Regions from separate parts of the Homo sapiens genome. Here region 1 is linked to region 2. Evidence: promoter capture Hi-C in 16 types of primary human blood cells and fetal thymus (Javierre and others, 2016). All regions are on one chromosome and are shown on one strand. The core of a region is centred on a gene start or on the middle of the fragment in contact, and the rest is flanking DNA. Distances in the headings are between cores, read along the strand shown. Region 1 overlaps CDK15 (cyclin dependent kinase 15). Region 2 holds the start of KIAA2012-AS1 (KIAA2012 antisense RNA 1).

Evidence for each region. Contacts are between HindIII fragments. The CHiCAGO score rates a contact against its expected background, and 5 or more counts as called.
Region 1: a fragment that was not itself captured here is called in contact with the fragment with the promoter of KIAA2012-AS1 in region 2 in 1 of 17 cell types (endothelial precursors); the score reaches 5.9 in endothelial precursors.

Annotation. Positions count from the first base shown.
Region 1 is chr2:201,883,415-201,886,427 of GRCh38, reverse strand. All of the region lies in intron 12 of CDK15 (cyclin dependent kinase 15), which reads right to left. Among named protein-coding and RNA genes, the nearest start is that of CDK15, 78 kb to the right of the region's middle. The HindIII fragment of the contact is 896 bases long and covers 1,206-2,101 here.
Region 2 is chr2:202,115,343-202,118,314 of GRCh38, reverse strand. KIAA2012-AS1 (KIAA2012 antisense RNA 1) reads left to right here and starts at 1,257. Exons shown (of 4, transcript NR_135244.1): 1 at 1,257-1,428; 2 at 2,411-2,972. The region is part of intron 11 of KIAA2012; the gene reads right to left. The HindIII fragment of the contact is 4,910 bases long and covers 1-2,658 here.

The DNA of each region.
Region 1 (3,013 bases), core at 404-2,903, 230 kb after region 2:
CTTGAACCTGGGACATGGAGATTGCAGTGAGCCAAGATCATGCCATTGCGCTCCAGCCTGGGCGACAAGAGCAAAAGTCCATCTCAAAAAAAAAAAAAAATCTTAAAACCCAAGGCTGATTGCATATATTATTACAAGAAAAGAAAAGAAAAGAAAATAAACTAAAGTAAGATGGCATTGAGGAAGAAGTTGGTCCTGGGGTGTAAATCTCTATTCAACATAAATTGAGCCCTCTTAATTGTGAGATATTAAACACGCTACCTGGAGATGTGTGGAATCTTTCCCAGAAAAGCTTTAAAATAAACACAGTACATGAGAGAGTGGGAGGAGCACAGAACTGGGCATCAAGATCTTGGTTCTAATCTTGATTTTGCAGCTAAGTTCCTATGTGATCTTTAGCAAGAACAATGAATAGTAGGAAAGGAGTAGCTTTTAGGAGTCAGATTTGAAGTAAAATCTTGGCTCTACAACTTTCTAGCTGTGTGACTTCAAGCAATTAGCCTACCTGACTTCCAGCTGTCTAATCTGTAATATGAGGATAACAATTCCAGCCTCACCAATTAGTACATAGATTGATAATTTATATAAAGCATATAGATGTCCAATAAAAGGCAGGTACGATTATTCTTCCCTGGGCATCAGTGACTCAGCTATATAATGAAGGTATGGAATAAGTAATCTTTAAGATCCTTTATAAATAACTCTTTTCTGAATTATTTATCTTTACTTGGAGACTCAGCCATGAACGTAACAAATTTAACCAACTTAAGGGCTTGGTAGGGCTGAGGGACTTGGTTTTCCCAGACTTCTCCCAGCAACACAATGCTATGCAACCCCATAAACCACGTCTCAACCCAGTATCTCCTCTAACATATTGAAATGGATGGAGAACAACTTTGTGCATAGAAGGTGAGGAAGTGTGTTATGGAGGACATCTCCAAATTCGCTTCTTAAGGGCTGATTAATGGAGGATTTAAAAGGTGGACAGATTGGTCTGAGTTACGTTACAAACTCCTAGAAGTAGCACAGAGTCAAGAGGATGGCTGAGAATCTTCCCTCCCTCTTTTCCAACATCCCCAGCCCCTGAAACCTGGCCTCATAGAATGACAAAATATTCTGGTTCAACTTTGAATAGAATACACAAAAAAACCAATAAACAGAATAGGTTTGAAATTACGTGGAAGCATTCAGAGTGAAACTAAGCTTGATTAGTACATGTTAAAGAATGTTTAAATTGTTGCAAAAAGGCATACGATGGTAAGAAAAACTACAATGGTATATGAGTTAAGACTGAGCCACTATGATTAAAAAGAAGACAACTTCAGAATGATCTTAGATGGTATTGAGAGGAACACGACATTCCTTTGCCCGTATGCCCTTCCTCTCCAATCATCCAGACCCATCATCTTTCAAGGCCCACTCACAAAATCATCCTGGATCCCCACAGCTGGAGTTAATCTCACCTCCTTCAAACACTTAGAGCACTTTATTTGTATACTTGATCTGCAGCTGTTTATATACTTGTCTTATTTCCTAAAGGACCGTAAGCTCTTTGAGGACAGGGTCTATGACTAATTCATTTTTGTATCCTTTAATATCACACCTCATGGACACTCAGTAAACCTCCAATGAATGAATGGAACATGATTCTCCCACCATGCAAGAAATTTGAGTCTATGCTGCCTCCATATTCTCAGAGATAAGCAAAATAATTGGAACAGATTCAGAAGAGAACAATAAAACAAAATGACTAAAAAGTGGGAGAAACAGAATTTGTATTTGGAAACAAAGGTTAAAGGAATTCAGCCTAAAGTGGCCTTTGGGAAGTGATATCATAGGGACCTTCCAATATATTAAGGAGATAACACTCAAAGAAGGCCTGAAGTTATTTTATTGAACCAAAACAAAACACGACTCAGATTTTAACAGGGCAATGAGGCATGCTGAAGAACTTTCGGAGTATAGATATCGGGATGGTGTGATCAAAGGTAGAGGTAAATGCCATGCTTTCTTCCATCCCTATGTGTATATAAGTATACTCTAACAATGGGGGCTGTGGTACAGCATTTTTGCAAAATTACTTGTGAAACAATTGCAAGCTTTTTAGATTTTCTCCCCCTAAGATGCTAAAACCTGTTTTAAAGGAGAAGGGGATTTAGTCCAGGAAGGAATGGGAGACTCAAGTATGAGACTTGGCTAGCAAGCAAAATGGGACCAACCCAGAGAGAGAGAGAGAAAGAGAGACAGCCTTTGATGTCCTGACGATCAAGGACCATGGCTTAAAGACCAGACTCTTAAATCACGTGTCATTTACTGCCTCAGATAAAAAATACTTTTCTGGATCAGTGTCTGTAGTTCAAAATGGCTAGGTTCCAAAATCAGTCTTAAATTTCCAAGGGTAACATTTGGAAGGTTTCCTGAAAGAACAGAGCGGAGCCAGTTTTAAGAAGGGGCAGCTTAATGATTTCCTACTACCCCCACCCCCAAATCATTAAACAGTGTTCCTTTCCCAGAGCCCAAGTTCATGCTGAGGGCAAAGAGAATTAAATGAAGAAGCTGAACCTGCAGCTAAGATTAGAGAGTTGCCAAGGGCCTAATTTTAGGTCCTAGCTGCTCCAGCTGACGTCCTGCCCTGCTGGCTCAGCCACGAGGACCACAAGTGTGGCCATAAGCCGGTGTCTGAGTGGGAAGAGCGACTCCCTGGCCATCTGCAAAAGCAATTAGCTTGCTGTTGGCTGTGTTTTGAGAGGGACTACCAATAATTTCTCCTTCAACAAGTGTTTCTTCAGGTGTTCACGAGTCAATAAGGGAAAATGTCAGAACTTGGCAGAAGTTCCCACATGCTTGCCATTCTAATATTCACACTTTTCCACTTCAGGTGCTGTCCAAAAGGAAACTAATCCTGGAATTCCTGGTTTTCATGGCAAATAACCCCCTGATAAATGCCCTTTGGCTCTAAGCGTACTGCCACAACCTAGGGAAAGCATTGTTCGGGACTTCTCAGCGTCATGAA
Region 2 (2,972 bases), core at 8-2,507:
TTTTCCTTTACTCAAACATTTGACCAGAGATCACTAGTACTGGTAACACCTGCCAACATTATTTCTCATGAGGGTTATGAAAAACACTGAAAAGGCACAAGGGGCAGTGTACACTATAACCACGTGGGGCTCCTATCTTCCTGTATTTCTTCCTATCCAGAGATGGATGGATTGTGGACTCTATGATTCAGAACTGATGTTTAGAGAATAAAAATAATAATAGTCACAAATGATTAATGGCTGAAATCCTGTTTCAGGATTTAGACACAAGAACTGCTCCACCGAGAGAATCTCCTTGGGGAAAGGGGCATATTTAGAAACATGCCATGTTAGGAGAACCTTAGAAATCATCAGTTTAGCATTTTCCAAAGTTTGCCAAAAACTTTTTAGATCCACATGATGCTTTACCAAAAACAAAGGGATTCAGTGATCAAATAAGTTTGGGAAACAGTGCATATCCCCATCCTGAAGAACCACGGTGCACATCAGCATATCGGAGGCTCTAGGAAGTCCTGCGGTAAGGGATCTGCTTAACTTTGGTCCACTGGTTTCCAAATGTATCTGGCCCTAGAACCTTTCCTTTTTTACACAATGCCTGTTAACCTTCTGAGGAATTGGAGTTCGACGGGACATGTGCTGTGAGGACTGGATCTAATACCAACTCCTCTTTTTCCATATGAGGAAGCTGAGGTCCAAGGCAATGAAGTTATTTGCCTGTGATCACAGAAATCCTGGGCAGTACAGGTGGGAATAAAACCAGAGTTTTTTCTTCTTCCTCACATGGCCTTATCAAAATTAATTGTCCTCCCTTACATCTCTCGGCATCATCAGTAAGGTAACAGCTACTAAGAGATGGGCTACTTAAGGAAAATCATACTTTAAACAGTACCCCACCAACATGGAAGGATTCTTTTACCCGTGGGGTCCCACAACCAACTTATCACAAAGGAAAAATGGGAGAACAGTCACTTAGCCTATGTTTACCCCTAAATGATCAGTGTTTTCAGACCAGCTGGGATATTCTTAGACTCATCTTTCTGTCAACCAAATCACAGACCATCACAAAATGACACCAAGAATACTAGTTATCTAGAATACTAGTTATCTATTACTGCAAAATAAATGATCCTGAAACCTAAAACAATAAACCTTTGTTATGCCTCAGTTTCTGTGGGAATCTTGGAGTGGCTTAGGTGTGTGGTTCTGGTGCAGCCTTTTGTGAGGTCACAGACAGAGTGTCAGCCAGGGATGCAGTCATCTGAAGACTTGACTGGGGCTGGAGAACCTCCTCTCAAGGCAACTCCCACACAAGCCTAGGAAGTTCATTCTGGCTGTTGGCAAGGGGCTTCTGTTCCTTGCCATGTGGACTGCTTGCCATAGGCTGCTTGAGTGGCCTCATCACAGACATGGTGGTTGGCTTTCCCCAGAGTGAGTAATCCGAGAGAGAGAGCAAGGAGGAAGCCTTGGTGCCTTTTATGACCCCAGTCTCAGAAGTCACATACCATCAATTCTGCCATAGTCTATCTTTATTTAGAAGTGAGCCATCATATCCCACTCACACTCAAGGGGAGAAGAGTTAGTTTCTCCCTTTTGAAGGGGGAAGTGTCAAAGAATTTGTGGATGTATTTTAAAACCACCACACCAAGAAAGAGTTGCAAGGGGGAAGGATGCTAATTAAATGACAAATAACAACAACAAACAAACAAGAAAGGCTGGGTGCAGTGGCTCATGCCTGTATCCCAGTGTTTTGAGAGACCTAGGTGGGAGGATTGCTTGAGGCCAGGAGTTTGAGACCAGCCTGGGCAACACAGGGAGACCCCATCTCAAAAAAAAAAAAAAAAAAAAAAAAGCCGGGCATGGTGGCTCGTGCCTGTAGCCCCAGCTATTTGGAGGCTGAGGTGGGAGGATAGCTTGAACCCAGGAGTTTGAGGCTTCAGTGAGCCATGATTGCACCACTGTACTCTAGCCTGTGCGACAGAGCAAGACCCTGTCTAAAAAAACAAAAAACACCCAAGAAACATTTTGAGGGTAAAAATCCATTTAGAACAAGAACAAATACTAAACAGAAACTCTGAAAGAGACCAGGAATTTAAATTTACATGGGACTTGATGCCCAACCTGAATCATTGGCATAAACATCCTTGAACTTCTTTGTAAAACAAACTTCTGAATAAAAGAACTTCTGAGAGAAAACTTCTATTGCTGGCACTGTGACTAGGGGAGTAGATGAAGGATTTGAATCAAGGATAAGCAATTCAGAGGGCATATCCAGTGGTTTGACATGTATCCTTCTAAGTTAACTTTTCCTTTCTCAAGACTTTCAATTTTCTAAATGTTCAATATCCCAACATGACCAAAAGGGTCAAATTCCAGCTCTAGTCTTCACATCTTTTTTTTTTTCCTTCTGAAGGTTTATATTCATTTCCCTATGCTGTCTGAAAGAAGATACCATGATCTAATTGCCTAAGAATTTATTTCCAAATAGTTGTTGACAGAGCCTGGAAGTCTCAGAAAGATCAGATGGATCGTATTCCTTCCTTTACTCAAGAGTTTTTTTTTTTTTTTAATTAAAACAAAAAACAAAAAACCCAGCAACAACTATGATCCCTAAAGAACTTTCCTTTGTGGCACCTGGAGTATTCAGTCAATCAACAAGCTTTTCCTGGACATATGATGGAGATGAGATGTTCTCTAGGACTCATATTGGAAGCTAAACAGAAAACAGATGCAGATACATACAATAATCACAAAAGTGGGATTGAGAAAGAGAGAGAGGAATGGGGCTGAGGCTACATCTAGGCAGCTGTGTGCAATGAGGTGGATTTATTAAGGAAAATGTTCCAGAAAAGATGAACTTAAAGCTATTCTAAATATTTGGGGGAAACTTGAGCAAAAGTTTGGAGAGAAAAGAATGAAGACTGAATTTTTAGGTCATCAAAGAGATGAACAAGGGGTGGGCTGGAATATAGTAG